Regions from separate parts of the Homo sapiens genome. Here all the other regions are linked to region 6. Evidence: promoter capture Hi-C in human tissues and cell types (Jung and others, 2019). All regions are on one chromosome and are shown on one strand. Each heading gives the region's core, a stretch centred on a gene start or on the middle of the fragment in contact. The rest is flanking DNA. Distances are from core to core; before and after follow the strand shown.

Region 1 (3,115 bases), core at 345-2,844, 490 kb after region 6:
ACTCTGTCACCTGGGCTGGAATGCAGTGGCTCGATCTCGGCTCACTGCAACCTCTGCCTCCCGGGTTTAAGCGATTCTCCTGCCTCAGCCTCCCGAGTAACTGGGATTACAGGCACCTGCCACTACGCCCAGCTAATTTTTGTATTTTTAGTAGAGACCAGGTTTAACCATATTGCCCAGGCTGGTCTTGAACTCCTGACCTCGTGATTCGCCTGCCTCGGCCTCCCAAAGTGCTGGGATTACAGGCTTGAGCCACCATGCCTGGCCTTGGCTAATTTTTTAGTTTTTTTGTGTAGAGATGGGGTCCTGCTCCATTGCCCACGCTGGTCTCAAGTGATCCTCCCACTTCGGCCTCCCAAAGTGCTGGAATTACAGGTGCCTGACCTCCTGCTATTCTTACCTGTGTAATTTTTCCACGTGAACTTGAGAATCAGGTGGTTTAGGCCCCCCACCAAGAAAATCTTGTTGGTATATCATATATGTATGGTTTTTTAGTGGTTTTTGTTTGATTTTTTGAGACAGAGTCTTGCTCTGTCGCCTAGGCTGGAGTGCAGTGGCACGATCTCAGCTCACCACAACCAGTGACACCATTGGTACTTATTTGCTTCTTCCTAGTGACTAAAGGAATGAATGAGTTTCTCAGAGACTAGAGCTCCACCGTCCACGAGGCTATTAGCCTAAGCTCCCGCCCTCATTCTGCACCGGCCCTTTGGGGTGGCCGGTGAGGGCCCATGTGGGCTGACAGGTCTGTGGCCAGGTGGCTGTGGTCTAGCCCTGCTCCAGCTGGACCCCAGGACAGGGAGTCCTGGGCAGCTGAGGACGTCGGGGGCAGGTGGGAGAAATGGGCCCTGGCTGCAAAGGCCTGGAGGGTTCCAGCAAAGTCACGGAGCGTCCCCTGACCCTGATGGACAGCATTGACGCTGCTGTCTTTGTGCTTCCGCCTCCAGGTCTGGTTCTGAACAGAGACCAGAGGCTCGCCTGGGTGAGTACCACTGCCTCCGGGTCCCCCGCCAAGGTTTGCCTGTTAGCGTCTTTGTCGTTTTTGAAAATTACAGGCCAGGCGTGGTGGCTCACGCCTGTAATCCCAGCTACTCAGGAGGCTGAGGCAGGACAATCGCTTGAATGGGAGGCAGAGGTTGCATTGAGCCGAGATAGCACCACTGCACTGCAGCCTGGGCGACAGAGCGAGACTCCATCTCAAGAAAAAAAAAACAAAAGAAATTATATAGCTAACATAATACTTAATGATTGTCAATTTAACCGTTTGTAAGTATGCACTTCAGTGGCATTAAATACAGTCGATGGAGGTGAGGAGAGGAGGGAGACATCCCAGGCACTGGCTGCTGCACAGGGAAAAGCTCGAAGTCAGCTCGGTGCATCTGTTGAGAGGGGGATTCCTGATAGAGGCTGTGAAGATTAAAGAGGGGAGGGGCAGGATGACAAAGGTTCTCAAAAAACAGCGTCCCATCTGGAGGCCTGTGTCACTGGAGCACTTGTATTAATAGAAACTTGGCCATCTCTGCCAGTGAGGGGCTGTAGGACCTTGGGCAAGGTGCTTACCCTCTCTGAGCCTTGGTTGTCTCACGTGCAAAAAGAAAGTGCTTTCATTCGCTCAGCTGGTTTATGAGCAGCTTGGCTAGGGGAGCCAAGCCCTGGGCCTGCCTTTGAAGGGTTGTTGTCGAGACTAGGTGAGGTCATGTGTGTTGAGTGGCCTCGCACAGTGCTGTCGCTTCAGGTGCTCATGGCCTGTGCTATTTTGTGATTGTTAAAATATGGTAGAACATTGGACACATGTGAGACACTGTCATTAGAGGTGGGGACGCTCTAACTGCAGGGAGACCGCTGAGAGCTGCTGCCCAGGCCCAGGCCAAGAGATGAGGCTTGGACCAGGGCGTCAGCCAATGGTCTGGGAATGTTAACGTGTTTGTCTTTGATCCGTGTGGGATTTGTTCTTGAGCATGGTGTCAGATAGTGATTCATTTTCTTTTCTTTTTTTCTTTTTTGTGTTTTAAAAGTTCGATTTTTCGGCCGGGCGCGGTGGCTCACGCCTGTAGTCCCAGCACTTTGGGAGGCCGAGGCGGGTGGATCACAAGGTCAGGAGATCGAGACCATCCTGGCTAACAAGGTGAAACCCCGTCTCTACTAAAAATGCAAAAAATTAGCCGGGCGCGGTGGCAGGCGCCTGTAGTCCCAGCTACTCGGGAGGCTGAGGCAGGAGAATGGCGTGAACCCGGGAAGCAGAGCTTGCAGTGAGCCGAGATTGCGCCACTGCAGTTCGCAGTCCGGCCTGGGCGACAGAGCGAGACTCCATGTCAAAAAAAAAATAAATAAATAAAAAAAATAAAAGTTCGATTTTTCTTTAATTTTATTATTATTATTATTATTATTATTGATACAGAGTCTCGCTCTTGTTGCAAAGGCTGGAGTGCAATGGCACTATCTCAGCTCACGGCAACCTTTGCCTCCCAGGTTCGAGTGATTCTCCTGTCTCAGCCCCCAAGTAGCTGGGATTACAGGCACCCACCACCACACCTGGCTAATTTTTGTGTTTTTAGTGGAGATGGGGTTTCACCATGTTGTCCAGGCTGGTCTCGAACTCCTGACCTCAGGTGATCTGCCTGCCTCGACCTCCCAAAGTGCTGGGATTACAGGCATGAGCCACAGTGTTCGGTCTATTTGAATTGTAGAGACAGGGTCTCCCTCTGTCACCCGGACTGGAGTGCCATGGCTCAATTATGGCTCACACAGCTTCAACCTCCTGGGCTGAAGTGATCTTCCCACCTCAGCCTCCGGAGTGGCTAGGACTACAGGTGTGCGCTACCACACCCAGCTAAATTTTTTACTTTTGTAGAGACAGGGTCTTGCCATGTTGCCCAGGCTGGTCTTGAATGCCTGGGCTCAAGCTATCCTCCCGCCTCAGTTTCCCAAAGTACTGGGATTACAGGTGTGAGCCACTGCAGCCAGCCATTGTAATTGTTTTTCTAGATGAACAATACCAGCTGTTGGGTGGTCCTCCCTACCCACTAAGGCTCACTCACTGGTGGTTTGTCCCTTGTGTGTGCTGACCTTCGTGGTAGGAATTTATTGCCAGATCCTAGTCAATCTGGCTTTTGGA
Region 2 (2,843 bases), core at 1-2,500, 440 kb after region 6:
GGTACACCAGGGCCTCACACATGCTGGCCTCTCTACCTGGCGTGTCACCCTCTTCCCTCCCGCTCACCTCAGGTTTAGCTCAAACCTCGCTTCCTCAGGAGAGCCTTAGCATCACCTCCGCCCCTCCTGCCAGCTCAGATCCCACTGCCTGTGCCTTCACAGCTTCTCTTAACAGTCTGGAGGCTATATTGATGAGATTCTTTGGTTAATCGCTGGCACACCCATGACTGTAATCCTCATAAAGCTAGGAACTGCTTCTATTTTTCTCACACCTCCGTCACAGTACCGGTTGGCGTAGAGCTGCGGTCCCTGAACTCAGGAAGCTCAGTTGCAATAACGGAGAAGACAATTAACAAGCATACAGCAAACTTGTATCAATTGTGAAAGAAACATTACAGGGTGATGGGGTGGCAGAGGTCTTCTTTCCATAGGCCATCACGGATGGCCTCTTTGAGGAAGCAACATTAAAGCTCAGGCCAGAACGCCACTGTGCAACAAACCGGCACAGCACGTGCAAAAACCCAGAGGGGGGAAAAAGCATGTTCCCTCAGAGGAACAGAAAGAGCTTTAGGTCGGCACCAGCCAGACCACGTGGCCCACACAGGTTAAGAAGTCTGGTTTTTGTTTTAGAAGCTACCTGATAAAGCCACTGGAGGGAATGCAGTAGGTGTGGCGCCTATCGTGGGCGCGGCAGACATGATCGAATCTAAATGTCCTTAAAAGAACATTCTGGCACGTGGGTGGAGAACAGAAGCAGGGGCAAGAGGAGAAGGAGGGCAACCGAGTAGGAGGGCCTATAACAGCCCAGGTAAGAGCTGATGGGGGATGGACTAGGAGCAGAGGCGATGAGAAGGGGATGGGCTCACCTGGACGAGCGGGTGTGGACGGAAATGGGTTTGTCCTGGGTGAGAGTGTGGACAGAGGCGGGCTCACCCAAGGGAAGCGTGGACCAAGTTGGGCTCGCCCCGGGAGAGTGAGCAGGCAGAAGGGCGCCGCCTGGGTCCTCGGGACCCCGGAGCCTCAAGACCTGCGGAGCCTGGGGCCACGGGCCACCGGGGCTCACACCCAACCGTGCGGCCGCTCCTGGGGACCCCCGGCCGTCGCCAACCCCCAAACACCTCCCGGCGATGCCTGACCGCCCCCGGTCTCGCGTCCCGGAGCCCCTCACCTGCGTAGCCCAGTGGGCTGGGGATACGGTCCTCCGGGTCCCGCGCGGCGCACTTCCTCCTGCGCGCCACCATCTTGCCACCCGGGAGCGCGGGGGCCGCCGGGAGTTGCGGTTCGGCGCCGGCGCGAGCGCGTTTTCGTGGCGCCTGCCCCGCCCCCTCACTCCAAGCCCGCCTCCCCGGCCCCGCCCGCCATGGCCCAACCTTCATCCGCTCAGAGATAAATCAGCGCGCGAAAGTGGGAGCGAATGTCAGAGTTGACCCCGGCCAGTCACGAGTGCGAACTCAGCTTTCCACTCATGCATTCACACGTTGAATAGGCAGTGTGAGAGAAATCCAGGATGGCTGCTAGGTTTTCAGTCTGAGCAACTAAGAGGATGGTGTTGCCATTGACTGAGATGGGAAGACTGCAGGAGAGGGGCCTGCTTGGGGGTGAAAATGGAGTAGATCAGTTCTCTGTGAGCCGTGGTGAGATGCCCATTAGGCCACTCAGGGGACATGTCAGGTGGGCACTTAGATATGAGACTGAACAGACTGAACATCAGAGATGTCAGGCCTGGAGCAATACACACGGGACTGGCCATGGATAGGTTATTGACAGTTACGAGAGGAGCCGGGTGCGGTGATTCATGCCTGTAATCCCAGCAATTTGGGAGGCCGAGGGGGGCGGATCACTTGAGGTCAGGAGTTCCAGACCAGCCTGGCCAACATGGTGAAACCCCGTGTCTACTAGGTACAAAAAGTAGCCGGGCGTGGTAGTGCATGCCTGTAATTCCAGCTACTCGGGAGGCTGAGGCAGGAGAATCGCTTGAACCCAGGAGGCGGAGATTGCAGTTAGCCAAGATCGCCCCACTGCAATCCAGCCTGGGCAACAGAGCGAGACTCTGTCTCAAAAAAAAAAGAAAGAGAAAAAAAAAGAAAGTTATGAGAGGGTGTGATCGCCAAGGGAGCAAGTGTAGATAGGGGAGAAATGAAGTCCAAGGACTCCACTTTTCTGGACTCCAAAGGGCCTCTCAGACTGTGTACCCGCCAGCCCTTGATGTATCTACTATTTCTCTTTTCCCAGTGTACAGTTGCTTCTTGGAAATGCTGTCGGCCCCTTTGGGGAAAGATTAGGAGCCTACTACTGCAAATATTTGTGGTCTGGAGGGGACCCAGCCTCCCTTTCAGTCAGTGACCTCTGGTTCTGAGGCCTAGCTTAGGCCTGGAAACTGGATGAGGGGTTGGGATTTTCCATCAGCAGCTGCCATTACTGTCCTGTTCGCTCGTTTTTTGTTTTTGATCTTTCTTTGCTTAGCGCAGTCAAGCAGTGTTGGGGCTTCCGTGGCCCCTGGGAATACCGTGGTCTACTAGCATTCACCAGAGACTCCTGTGCGCCCAGGATCCCTGGCAGCCACTCTGGCCTTGCTCCTGTTCTGACAGTCACATCAACCGAACCTCTGCTCTCTGGAATCCTATCTCCTGCTGACCTTTCCGAGCCCGGCTCCAGTCCTATTTGCCCTCTTCTACCCTGGCCTCAGAGGACGGCCATGCCGATTGCCCATTGATGCCTAGACCCCCCACTAGTCAAAGCAGTCTCTGGTGAACCCTCCAGAAATACGGTCATCTGGCTTCTCAGATGTTGCATAATAAATCTGTGCCTGCACATCCCCCTCCCCGAGGCCTTTGGCTCCTTCT
Region 3 (2,946 bases), core at 21-2,520, 280 kb after region 6:
GGGTGACAGAGCAGGATTTGAAAACAGGCCTATGGGACTCCCAGACATGTGCCTTTCCCCATGCAGTGCCCTGCCTCACAGAGAGAGAGAGCGACTCACACCTGGCGAGACCGAGGGTTGAGTCTGCCAGGAAGAGCATGGTGAGCAGGGGGAACAGAATGTGGCAACATGTGAGGGCAGACTCAGGACTGTGCCTGGGTCTGTCTTCCTGCCCAGCCTGGGGTCCACCTCTCACACTCCAGGGCTCCAAAGCCAGTGCTCCTTCCCCTGGCCTGCCTGGGGGATGGCAAGATTTAGATAGAGAATGACTTACTGACTTCAGAGTCCCACAGCCCTGGGTTAGAGCCCCTGGCCCTCATATCACTCTGGCCAAGTTGCTTCCACTCCCTGAACCTTGGCTTTCTCTCCTGTGAATGAGACTGTACCTGAAGAATGATTAAGGAAAGTCCCTGGCACAGAGTAGGTGCCTGGCAAATACCAACGGACAGGAGCCTCGGGACAGATCCCGTTCTGTCCTGGCATGGTGCCGTTTCCTAGCTAGGGAGCCAGCAGGCTCTGCAGGGCAGGGAGGCTCTGCGCTTAGCTAGGTGGTGTTGCAATGAGAGCAGCAAGGTTTCTGAGTGAGCCCTGCCCCTCCTGGGGCCAGTATCGGTGGGGGCTAGAGCCCTGCTCTCCAGTAACTCACTGTAGCCCTCCCAGTTACTCAAGGAGCTGGCCACGGCCCAGCCCAGCGGACAGAGGAGGCAGGTGTCTGGGGCTGGTTGACCCTCAGCCTGGACACCACCCTCCACACACAAGGAGGCAGTGGTGGTCCATGGGGCTGCTCTTCCTAGGCAGGGCTGTTGGAGGTGGCCCCTTCCCACTCTGCTCTGAGAGCCTGACTATTAGAGGGGACACTCAGAGGCCCAGGAGGTGACAATGGCACTTACTGGGCACTCTTTGGGCCAGAAAGAGGCTGGGTGCTTTACAGAGCCTCTGACAGATGGGTATTAATATCCGCATTTTGGCCTGGCGTGGTGGCTCACGCCTGTAATCTCAGCACTTTGGGAGGCCGAGGTGGGCAGATCAATTGAGGTCAGGAGTTTGAGACCAGCCTGGCGAACATGGTGAAACCCCGTCTCTACTAAAAATACAAAAATTAGCTGGGTGCAGTGGCGGGTGCCTGTAATCCTAGCTACTTGGGAGGCTGAGGCAGGAGAGTCGCTTGAAACTGTGAGGCAGAGGTTGCAGTGAGCTGAGATTGCGCCACTGCCCTCCAGCCTGGGCGACAGAGTGAGAGTTTGTCTCAAAAAACAAACAAACAAAACAAAACAAAAAAAATTAGGTGGGTATGGTGGTGGGCGCCTGTAATCCCAGCTACTCAGGAGACTGAGGCAGGAGAATCACTTGATCCCCGGAGGTGGAGTTTGCAGTGAGCCGAGATCACACCACTGCACCCCAGCCTGGGGAACACAGTGAGACTCCGTTTCAAAAAAAAAAATTAGAATTAAAAAAAAATAAGAAAAAAAAAATCCCCATTTCACAGATAAGGAAACTGAGGCTTGGATAGGTCAAAGATACCCGGACTCCTTAGTCCAACAGCACCTCTGACCTTAATCTCCCCTCATCCCACACGCAGAGGTTGTTTGAATTCTAGTGATGGGAAGATCACTCCTGCCAAGACCCCACCTTTGGGCATGCGTGAAAGAAAACTCTTCTCAGTGGAGACTGAATTGGCCTCCTGAAACTCCCACCCTAGGGCTGAGCACTCTGTCCCCAAAACAGTCTTCAGAGCTTGAGCACAGCAGGACACCCCAGTAAGCCAGTATGCCTCCCCTGGGTAGCTCCTTTCTGAGCCTTAGTTCCTCCAGCTGTAAAACAGGGTTACAACGGTCCCTTACTCAAGGGATGGTTGTGAGGCTTTAGGGTGTTAATAAACCTAGAATATTCCAGGAGCATCCCGAGTCCTCAGAGAAGCTGCGGCCAAGAGGAGAGGCTCAGAGGGCCTTCCAGGGACCCAACTCACCTTCCCCAAAGGAGGAATTGGCCGTGATCAGGGCAGCCCAGGGGAGGGATGGAGTGGGGACCACGGCTCGGGAGCCCGTGGCGAGCAGGCATTTCACCTGCACTCTACTGCCTCTTCCCAGACCTGGCCCTCCCAGAGGATGTGGCTCAGTCTTGCTAAAGGACAGCAGGAATCAGGGCCAGGCAGGGCTGGGTTCAAGTCCTTTGTCTGCCATTTACCAGCCACGTGTTTGGTGTAGCTGTTGGTTACCTCGCTGCTCTCAGCCTGGCGTCTGCAGCTTGGAGGAAGGCCCTGTCTCCCGGGGCTGTGGTGTCCAACAGTATGTGAGGCCCAAAGCAGAGTGGCCCCTCAAGTGCAGAGCCAAGCACACCCCAGGCCTGGGCCCCGCTGGGGACAGCCAGGCCACCCCATCATGGTCCTCCCTGCACTGAGGGAGGGACTGGAGAAGTGCAGCTCAGGAGAAGGACCCCACGTCTTGGCACATTCTGTTTCCCCTGCTCACCATGCTGTTCCTGGCAGACTTCTCTTCCCCTGGGGCCTTCCAGGCTTAAGTCTCTCCCTCTTTGTGAGGCAGGACACTGCAGCGGGGAAGCATGTACGTGATCAGGAGTACACTGATGGGGCAACTGAGGCCCAGAGAGAGGGAGCGATGTGTGCAGGATCACGCAGCTGGAGGATGAGAGCTAAGATTCCACCCCAGGCCTCTGCTGCTCCTCCTGGCACTTAAGCCTTCCCCAATCCATCCCCACACACATGCCCAGCACATCCCCACCTCGGGGCCTTTGCCCACTCCATAATCCCGATCTGGGGTTACGGTGCCCTCTCTCTGCCCAGCTGGATCTTACTGACCTTTAAGGCCCCTACTCTTGCTGTCCTCCCAGCCCTGTCCTTAGCCCCTAGAGCACACTGTCCACCCGACCCGCCTCCCCATCCAATTCCTC
Region 4 (2,915 bases), core at 369-2,868, 420 kb after region 6:
GAAAGAAGGAAAGAAGGAAGGAAGGAAGGAAGGAAAGAAAGAAAGAAAGAGAAAAAAAAAACAGCTGGGCACAGTGGCTCATGCCTGTAATCCCAGCACTTTGGAGGCCGAGGCAGGCGGCTCACGAGGTCAGGAGTTCAAGACCAGCCTGGCCAACATGATGAAGCCCCGTCTCTACTAAAAAATACAAAAAAATTAGCCGGGCGTGGTGGTGGGCACCTGTAATCCCAGCTACCCGGGAGGCTGAGGCAGAAGAATCGCGTGAAAACCAGAAGGCGGAGGTTGCAGTGGGCCGAGATCCTGCCACTGCACTCTAGCCTGGGCAACAAGAGTGAAACTCTGTCTTAAAAAAAAAAAAAAAAAAAAAAAAGGGCCGGGCGCAGTGGCTTGCGCCTGCAATCCCAGCACTTTAGGAGACCAAGGCGGGCTGATCACCTAAGGTCGGGAGTTCGAGATCAGCCTGGCTAACATGGTGAAACCTCGTCTCTACTAAATATACAAAATTAGCTGGACGTGGTGGCGCATGCCTGTCATTCCAAGCTACTCGGGAGGCTGAGGCAGGAGAATCGCTTGAACCCAGGAGGCAGAGTTTGCAGTGAGCCAGGATTGCACCACTGCCTGGCAACAGTATGAGGCTCCATCTCAAAAAAAAAGAAAAAAATCTGCTAAATTTGTAGTAACTTGTTGCACAGCATAGAAAATTAATATAGTCTCCCTAAATATTATAGTTAGTACTGCCTGCTTTTAAGAGTCTCTTTCAATCTATAGATTCCCCCTGCATCTCTTTATTCTCTCTCAATTTTTTATTGAAAAATTTGGGATGGTTAATTTGTATCGCTTCCCATAGTCTGGATTTTGCTGGTTACATTCCTGTGGTATAGGTTAACAGGTTTCATTTTTTCCTCCTGTAAATTGATCATTGCATCTAGAGTGTTAATCAGATTAAGCTTTTTATGTTTTTGTTAAGACTCTTTCTAAGTACACAGCTACAAGGTGTTTGTGTGTGTGTGTATATGTATATGTGAATTTGTGTATTTTTTTTAAGATAAGATGCCTCATGAAACATACTGATACTTCTGATTCAAATTCAGGAGACAAGATGTTACTCATTCTCTTCTATTTCACATCTGTAACTCCTTTTCCCTACACCAAGAATTCAGTTCTCTGGCCACTGGGGATGATAGAATTTGAATATCACATAATTACTAATTGCTTTGTCCCATGTTCGAAAACATTCTTAGAATAAAAATATAACATTACCAGTCCATATGATCACTAAAAACAGTTCCAAAACATTTTATTTTACTTTAGTATTATTATTACTTTTTTTTTTCTTTGAGACGGAGTCTTGCTCTGTCACCCAGGCTGGAGTGCAATGGTGTGATCTCAGCTCACTGCAACCTCTACCTCCTGGGTTCAAGTGATTCTCCTGCCCCAGCCTCCCAAGTAACTGGGATTACAGGCGCCCACCACCACACCTGGCTAATTTTTGTATTTTAGTAGAGATGAAGTATTGCAGGATCTGGCCAGCAGCCTGCAATGCAACGGGGCTCTCTCTTTGTTCCCAAGCGGATTGGCAGGTTGAGAAATAATAGACACACACAAGATAGTGAAAGCTGGGTCCAGGGGGGTCACTGCCTTCTGGTCCCTCAGTGCCAACAATGCACGGGATATACCAGCATTTATTATTAAGTTTAGTGAGGTCGGGGGTAGGTTAGTGAGGGATTTAGGGTCATTTGATTATGAGGTGAGATGGTCACATGGGGATGAAGCAATTCTTTAACATAACATTTGTATGTAGAAGTACAGTACATTTGTATGTAGAAGTATAGTATACAGAGATAAGAATTTACAACATAGTGTGTGCGTCAGTAATTTCTAACAGAGCCTTAAAACAGAAACACAGTCTTTCCATAACCTATGATTAGCAAGATTTTAATCAGTAGTAAAAACTGCAACAAAAGCTGGTTACAAACAATCCATGGAAACAGGAAGCTAGACAACCGGTTAGACCAGAAATTCTCAGAAGGGAGTATGCCTTAACCCTAAAGAGGCCTAGAAGAGCCACGGCAAGATGAGGGCGTTTATAGCCCTATCTTATCCATATGGACAGGCACCCCCTATGCGTCCATTTATAGGCTCTCCACAAGGGTCGCATTCCATTCCCAGAGCTATGAACATCTGCTTTGCTGGGATACGAATCTTGGTGATGTGAAACTTCCCTGACTGCAAGTCCATTCATAGGCTCTCTGCAGGGGGAAGCACATCACGTGCTATTGGCTCATTCTGGCAGTCCAACCTGGCATTGTCTTTACACAATCCTGCATGCAATTTTGTATTTACAATAATCAGGAGCATTTCATCTTTTATTCCATAGCAATAGTTTCAGGGGGTCTCCCTACAATGAAGTTGCGCCACATCGGCCAGGCTGGTCTCGAACTCCTGACCTCAAGCCACCCACCTGCCTTGGCCTCCCAAAGTGCTGAGACTACAAGCCTGAGCCACCGTCCCTGGCCAAAAAACAAAAAACAAAACACACACACACACACACACACACACACACACACACACTTTAAAGATATGCCCACACCATTTTCTCCCCCTATTTATAGCTGTACTTTGTCTATGTTGTTGGCGAATGTAACCATTACACTCCATCCTCTCCTTTTTACTCCTCATCTTCTCTTGGTTCTCCATGTAAATATATCTTTAATGTTCACACCAGGCTAATGTCAATGTCTTTTTAGTCTCGTTGGTTGTCTGAAGCTTATTTTCTAGTAATTCCTCAGGAAAGGCTTTGGGAACAATATTCTCTGGGTTCCTGCACATTGGTGAGAATCTGCTATTTTTTTTTTCTTTTTAACTCACTCTGTCACCCAGGCTGGAGTGCACTGCCGCGATCTGGGCCCACTGCA
Region 5 (3,090 bases), core at 66-2,565, 290 kb before region 6:
GCAATGAGAGAGTTTTACAGTGAACATTCATACACCCAACACCTAGATTCTACTAATAACATTTTATTATACTTGCTTAATCATATCTGTCCAAAATGAGCTTTTTAAAACACCCTCCTTCTTGCCAGACCAGGGGTCCACAGGCGGGAAAAACTGTGTTTGCATTATGGACACTTAGCCAGCTGGCCAGGATCTTAAGAGTTTAAGTTCATGGGAGCATAATCTTTAATACCTTAATCCTGCCCTGATGGCACAGTAGATCTTAAGCTAGTATCTTGCCTGCTAGATAAAACCTTCCTTGGGTGAGGAGGGCCAGTTAGGGAAATGCTTTCTCCCTAATGTTTCTAAAAGCGCTGATGTTCCTGTTTTAAGATTCAGAACAGGAGGTGTGGGGGGAATGATTTCCCAATACCCAGCACAGAGCTTGGCACAAAGTTGGCATCTGGGAATGTTTGTTGAATGGATGAAAACCACAGAAATTAACATTACATGATCCCAGCCATTTAGGCACTCACAGATTATAGGAAACACAAATAACTACATCTAATACCAAAATGACCTATTAGCAGTTGAGCATTCCTAATACAAAAGTCCAAAATCCGAAATGCCCAATGAGCATCTGCTTTGAGCATCATGTTGGTGCTCAAAAGTTTTGGATATGGGGATATTTCAGATTTCAAATTTTTAATTACAGATACTCAACCAGTATTTGTTTTTTTGTTTGTTTTTGAGATGGAGTCTCGCTCTGTCACCCAGGCTGGAGTGCAGTGGTGCAATCCCAGCTCACTGCAACCTCTGCCTCCTGAGTTAAGTGATTCTCCTGCCTCAGCCTCCCAAGTACCTGGGACTACAGGTACGCACCACAATGCCTGGCTAATTTTGTATTTTTAGTAGACATGAGGTTTCACCATGTTGGCCAGGCTGGTCTCGAACTCGTGACCTCAAGTGATCCACCTGCCTCGGCATCCCAAAGTGCTGGGATTACAGGCGTGCCCAGCCTCAACCTGTATTGGAAGGCTGCACAGGAGAGGTAGCATTTGAACTGGGCCTTGAGTGATGAAAAAGCCTTCTTCAAACCAATAGCCTAAACACTAGGGTGGGGTGCCAGTGAGGTTTGTGGGTTTTGTTTTGTTTTTTTTGAGACATAGTCTTGCTCTGTCACCCAGGCTGCAGTGCAGTGGTATGATCCCAGCTCACTGCAACCTCCACCTCCTGGGTTTAAGCGATTCTTCTGCCTCAGCTTCCTGAGTAGTTGGGATTACAGGTGTGTGCCACCATGCCTGGCTAATTTTTGTATTTTTAGTAGAGACAGGGTTTCACCATGTTGGCCAGGCTGGTCTCAAACTCCCAACCTTAGGTGATCTGCCCACCTCGGCCTCCCAAAGTGCTGGGATTACAGGTGTGAGCCAACGTGCCCAGCCACCAGTGAAGTATTGTATAGCACTTTCACCATTCGCCTCTCATGCCCAAGAGCCTAGGTGTCTCCCTGGCCTGTGACATTCAACTCTGCCTCTGGCAACTGTTTATTTTTATTTTTGAGATAGGGTCTTGCTGTCGCCCAAGCTAGAGTACAGTGGCATGATCATGGCTCACTGCCACCTTAACCTGCTGAGCTTAAGTGATCCTCCCATCTCAACCTCCTGAATAGCTGGGACTACGGGTATACACCACCATGCCCAGCTAATTTTAAAATACTTTTGTATTGGTAGTAAGGCCAGGCGCAGTGGCTCATGCCTGTAATCTCAGCACTTTGGGAGCCAAGACGGGCGGATCACTTGTCAGGAATTTGAGGCCAGCCTGGCCAACAGGGTGAAACCTCATCTCTACTAAAAATACAAAAAAATTAGCCGGGCGTGGTGGCGCGCACCTGTAATCCCAGCTACTTGGGAGGCCAAGGCAGGAGAATCACTTGAACCCGGGAGGTGGAGGTTGCAGTGAGCCAAGATCATGCCAGTGCACTCCAGCCTGGGTGACAGAGCAAGACTCCATCTCAAAAAATAAATAAATAAAAAATAAAATACTTTCGTAGAGATGATATCTCACTATGTTGTCCAGGCTGGTCTTGACCTCCTGGGCTCAAGCAATCCTCTGGCTTTGGCCTCACAAAGTGCTAGGATTACAGGTGTGAGTCACTGCACCTGGCCTTGTTTTAATTGTAGTAAACTATATATAACATACAATTTAGTATTTTAATCATTTTAAGTATATGGGTCAGTGGCATTAAGTACATTCACATTGTTGTGCAACTTTCACCATCATCCATCTCTAGATCTTTTCATCTTCCCAAACTGAAACTCTGTACCCATTAAACAATTCCCCAGTCCCCTCCCCCAGCCCCTGGCATCTACCATTTTACTTGCTATCTCTATGAATTTGACTACTGTAGGGACCTCATGTAAGTGGAATCCTGTATTTGTCTCTCTGGTAGTTTTTGACTGTCTGTCCTCAACAGTCCCTGGGAAGGGGAACCCAACCTGAGAAGCTCATGACTCCCCCTGTAGAAGGTGCTGGGCCTACCCTGCTTATGGGAGGGTATTGCTGAGGAGCCTGTCTTAGCCTCACAGTGACTGCCCTATAATTGCCTAGTGAACAGGACCAAGTAGGCTTTTCCTCTTTTCTCTCACTGTCACACTCTCGAGAAATTTCCTGGCCTTCTTTGTTCAGCCACAATGTCCCCTCTGTCACTGCCCAGGACCTCATGGCTATAGCTAAGCCTCCTTCATTCCCTTCAACCAGTTTGTTGTTTAAAACTAGTTTGTTTGTTTTTTTGTTTTGTTTTTTGAGACAGACTCTCATTCTGTTGTCCAGGCTGGAGTGCAGTGGCGTGATCTTGGCTCACTGCAACCTCTGCCTTCCAGTTGCAAGAGATTCTCGTGCCTCAGCCTACCAAGTAGCTGGGATTACAGGCACTTGCCACCATACCTGGCTAATTTTTTGTATGTTTAGTAGAGACAGGGTTTCGCCATGTTGGCCAGGTTGGTCTCAAAACTCCTGGCCTCAAGTGATCTGCCTGCCTTGGCATCCCAAAGTTCTGGGATTACAGGTGTGAGCCACCGCACCCGGTCTTAAAACTCGCTTTTTATTCATTTC
Region 6 (2,778 bases), core at 65-2,564:
GTCACCCGAGACTGTCACAGGCTTGCCATACCTTTGGCCTACACACCGGGCTCTAGAGCCATAATTTCCAACCTGGGGAGTCTCCTGTGCACTTAAATCCGAGGTAGGCTGCAGTATCGGCTTGAAGCTCTGACACTGTCAGAGAAAGTGGATTTATTGTGTCATAGGAGTTTCTGGGACCCAGCTCTTCCTGAGAGGGGTGGGAAGATTGGGGATGGGATCCTCACTCAGCAGTCTGGGTAGGGCCCTTTGAGGCAGAGGGTCTTCGGCCAGTGAAGAGAGATTTATTCTGCTCAGAGTGCTGGGGTCCCATCCTTTCTCCCTGGCTGCCCTGTTAACAGATGGTGCTGGACCTTGCCCCGGAAGGGGCTTGTAGCTTTTTTACGTCAACGAAATGCCCTCCTGTACTCTGTCTTCAGCAGCCAACTCCTGGAGCTGCCAAGTGAGGGGTTAAAGAAGAGGTGGGGAGGCAGTGTGGCTCCCTGGGAAAAGTCTGTTGCTTTGGTTCTCAGTCCTGGGTATTCTAGGAGCTTGGACACGGGATTGCGTTTCCTGTGCTAAAATTCTCTCTCCTGGCTGGGCTCCGGTAAACTGAAGCTGCTCGAGAAATCACCTGGGAACTCTCATAGCCGTTTGTCACCCAGGGTGTACTTGCCAGGACCTCTCCTTGCTACTCTTCCCAAAGTCGGGAGGCAAAGCGGCTGGGTCACCAGAGCCTGACCATACTGACGCTCCAGGGGGAAGACGCAGAGGCCGGGAAGAGACACCCCCTCCCAAACACATAAAACTTGCCCCTTCCTAGCCTCGGCTCCCCTCACTGGGGCCTTGGGCAGGACCGACCCGCATCCAACTAGGCCTAAGGGGTAGGCTCTGAGCCTCTTACCCCTAAGAGGCGGAGATGCGCCCAAGGCGGGCGCCCGGCCTGTTCCCCAGCCCTGCCTGGAAGCCCCGCAGCCACTGCATTTTGTTTAAACACAGATAGCACGGGCCTTTCTCTTATTGCTACAGTGTTTTGTACACGGTTAAAACACTAGTAAAGCTTTTTCGTTATTACTCCTTCCGCTCCCTGGGTTTATTTCCACAACCGGCCGCTGAGGCCTGTTCTGACGGCCGGGCGGACCCAAGACCGCGGCCACGCCCAGCAGGACGCGGACTGAGGGAGCCGGGGCTGCGCCGCCACTCTCGTGACGCCACCATGCCGGCCAGTGACAAACACCTCCCTCCCGCCGCCCCAGGAGCCGCCGGCACTGCGCGAGTGGGAGGGCTGGGCTTCTCGTGTACTCCTCAAACTCTCGCGAGGCTTCGGGCGGCTTTCTTCCCGAGGGCGGCACGAGGGCTGGGCGGTGGGGTGCGGGTGCCCGGGTGAGGGGCGGAGCTGGGGGCATGGCGTCCGGAGCGGCTCGCTGGCTAGTATTGGCACCCGTCAGGTCCGGGGCTCTCCGGAGCGGGCCTAGCTTGAGGAAAGATGGCGATGTCTCCGCCGCATGGAGCGGCTCAGGCCGGAGCCTGGTACCGTCGAGGTCAGTCATCGTTACCCGCAGCGGCGCCATTTTGCCCAAACCGGTGAAAGTGAGTGTCCTCCTGGAGACGGGGCGAAGGGGCTGAGGCCAATCATTGTGGGGAGTGCGTGAGGGCGGCGCTGATTGATAGGAGCCAAGGCCAATCATAACGATTACCGTAGACTGGAAGGCGGACCAAGAATACGCTAATGAGTTGCTAATTTTGACAGGTGTGTAGAAAATGGTAGGTAGACAGAAGATGGGGGGCAAACGCTGAGGAAGTTGGCCTTTTACATTAGCTTGTCCTGAGAGGTGCGGTGCTCTGCTCCTCTGGAGTCAGAAGACTAGGCCGTGTGCTTCTAGCTTAGAGCAGTCCTGTAATCTCTGCCCTGCCTGTCTCCTAGTTTATGGGATGAAATATGAATTTTGAAAGGACTCTGTAAATAAAGGGTACGTGGGACGGGCCTCATCTTTTTATTAGTTGTCACCTAATATTTAATTCATGTGATTTACAGTCCTGATAGATGTGCAGGGAATTATTACAATCACGGGTTTTCAAATGAAGAATCGGGCTAGAGCGGTGAAGCTCGTATCCAAGGCCAGCGCTGAGGACGCAGCATCCGGGTTTCTTCCTGGTACCGTCCCCACCAGGTCCTGTCTTTTTCCAACACTGAACGCTATCACATGCTTGAGTTTTTCTAGGGAAAACGGAAACAGTCCCTTATATCAAGCGAAAGTTTGCTTTACGACTGCAGGGCTGTGTGGTGTGGGAGTTAAAAAAACAAATTCTCTTAAAGCTAGTCTAGCCTATGCTAACTCACACAATTGACTGTAGGTCCATGTTGGGAAAGACCTGCCTTATCAAAACAGTTGAAAAAAAAATTTTTTTAATTCTAGGAATACGAGAGAAATGTTGCTGAGATTTTACTGACATTCTCCCAATCCATCTAAAGTCTTTGAGTGTAAATACATGCCCACTTTCAAATACATCTGTTTCTAAAATTTTTAAATCAAATTTCTCAGGCATCAGGGAACCTGTTACTTAGTGAACTGTGTAGAATATCCCTTCACTGTACATCTTTCTGTCATCGGTTTTCGTGTATTTCGTGTTCAGGCAGAGCTCACCGTAGTCTGGCCCTCCTAGTACTGGTGCACCCGATTGCCTGTAGGGATTTAAAGTAATTAGCAGGCTGTGTCCTAACTTTAGATGTCTAGGGTGCCTTAGACTTTTCTTTCCAGTGGACTTTTCGTCCATTTTGATGGCCATAACAGTCACCTT

The links. Contacts are between HindIII fragments. The study calls those that stand out against the background at their distance.
Region 1: a contact is called between a fragment that was not itself captured here and the fragment with the promoter of SMDT1 in region 6, in 1 of the 25 tissues and cell types used here (lymphoblastoid cells).
Region 2: a contact is called between the fragment with the promoter of RRP7A here and the fragment with the promoter of SMDT1 in region 6, in 3 of the 25 tissues and cell types used here (dorsolateral prefrontal cortex, lymphoblastoid cells and spleen).
Region 3: a fragment that was not itself captured here is called in contact with the fragment with the promoter of SMDT1 in region 6 in 1 of the 25 tissues and cell types used here (spleen).
Region 4: a fragment that was not itself captured here is called in contact with the fragment with the promoter of SMDT1 in region 6 in 4 of the 25 tissues and cell types used here (bladder, dorsolateral prefrontal cortex, stomach and 1 more).
Region 5: a fragment that was not itself captured here is called in contact with the fragment with the promoter of SMDT1 in region 6 in 1 of the 25 tissues and cell types used here (pancreas).

What each region holds. Positions count from the first base shown.
Region 1 is chr22:42,565,357-42,568,471 of GRCh38, forward strand. It overlaps SERHL2 (serine hydrolase like 2), which reads left to right. Exons shown (of 12, transcript NM_014509.5): 9 at 948-982. Among named protein-coding and RNA genes, the nearest start is that of SERHL2, 13 kb to the left of the region's middle. The HindIII fragment of the contact is 5,729 bases long and covers 1-3,115 here.
Region 2 is chr22:42,518,546-42,521,388 of GRCh38, forward strand. It overlaps RRP7A (ribosomal RNA processing 7 homolog A), which reads right to left and starts at 1,251. Exons shown (of 7, transcript NM_015703.5): 1 at 1,169-1,251. The coding sequence starts at 1,241. It overlaps LOC124900479 (a long non-coding RNA gene), which reads left to right. Exons shown (of 3, transcript XR_007068117.1): 1 at 1-808. RefSeq lists silencers at 1,003-1,132, 1,143-1,312, 1,333-1,392 and enhancers at 1,573-1,632, 2,158-2,452. The HindIII fragment of the contact is 27,172 bases long and covers 1-2,843 here.
Region 3 is chr22:42,357,307-42,360,252 of GRCh38, forward strand. No RefSeq gene overlaps it. Among named protein-coding and RNA genes, the nearest start is that of LINC01315, 10 kb to the right of the region's middle. The HindIII fragment of the contact is 3,994 bases long and covers 1-2,946 here.
Region 4 is chr22:42,496,773-42,499,687 of GRCh38, forward strand. No RefSeq gene overlaps it. Among named protein-coding and RNA genes, the nearest start is that of RRP7A, 22 kb to the right of the region's middle. RefSeq lists enhancers at 1,907-2,427, 2,513-2,915 and a silencer at 2,011-2,305. The HindIII fragment of the contact is 5,441 bases long and covers 1-2,915 here.
Region 5 is chr22:41,787,320-41,790,409 of GRCh38, forward strand. All of the region lies in intron 26 of MEI1 (meiotic double-stranded break formation protein 1), which reads left to right. Among named protein-coding and RNA genes, the nearest start is that of CCDC134, 12 kb to the right of the region's middle. The HindIII fragment of the contact is 8,169 bases long and covers 1-3,090 here.
Region 6 is chr22:42,078,386-42,081,163 of GRCh38, forward strand. SMDT1 (single-pass membrane protein with aspartate rich tail 1) reads left to right here and starts at 1,315. Exons shown (of 3, transcript NM_033318.5): 1 at 1,315-1,569. The coding sequence starts at 1,384. PHETA2 (PH domain containing endocytic trafficking adaptor 2) reads left to right here. Exons shown (of 3, transcript NM_001002034.3): 3 at 1-1,053. RefSeq lists a silencer at 740-1,034 and an enhancer at 1,060-1,832. The HindIII fragment of the contact is 9,212 bases long and covers 154-2,778 here.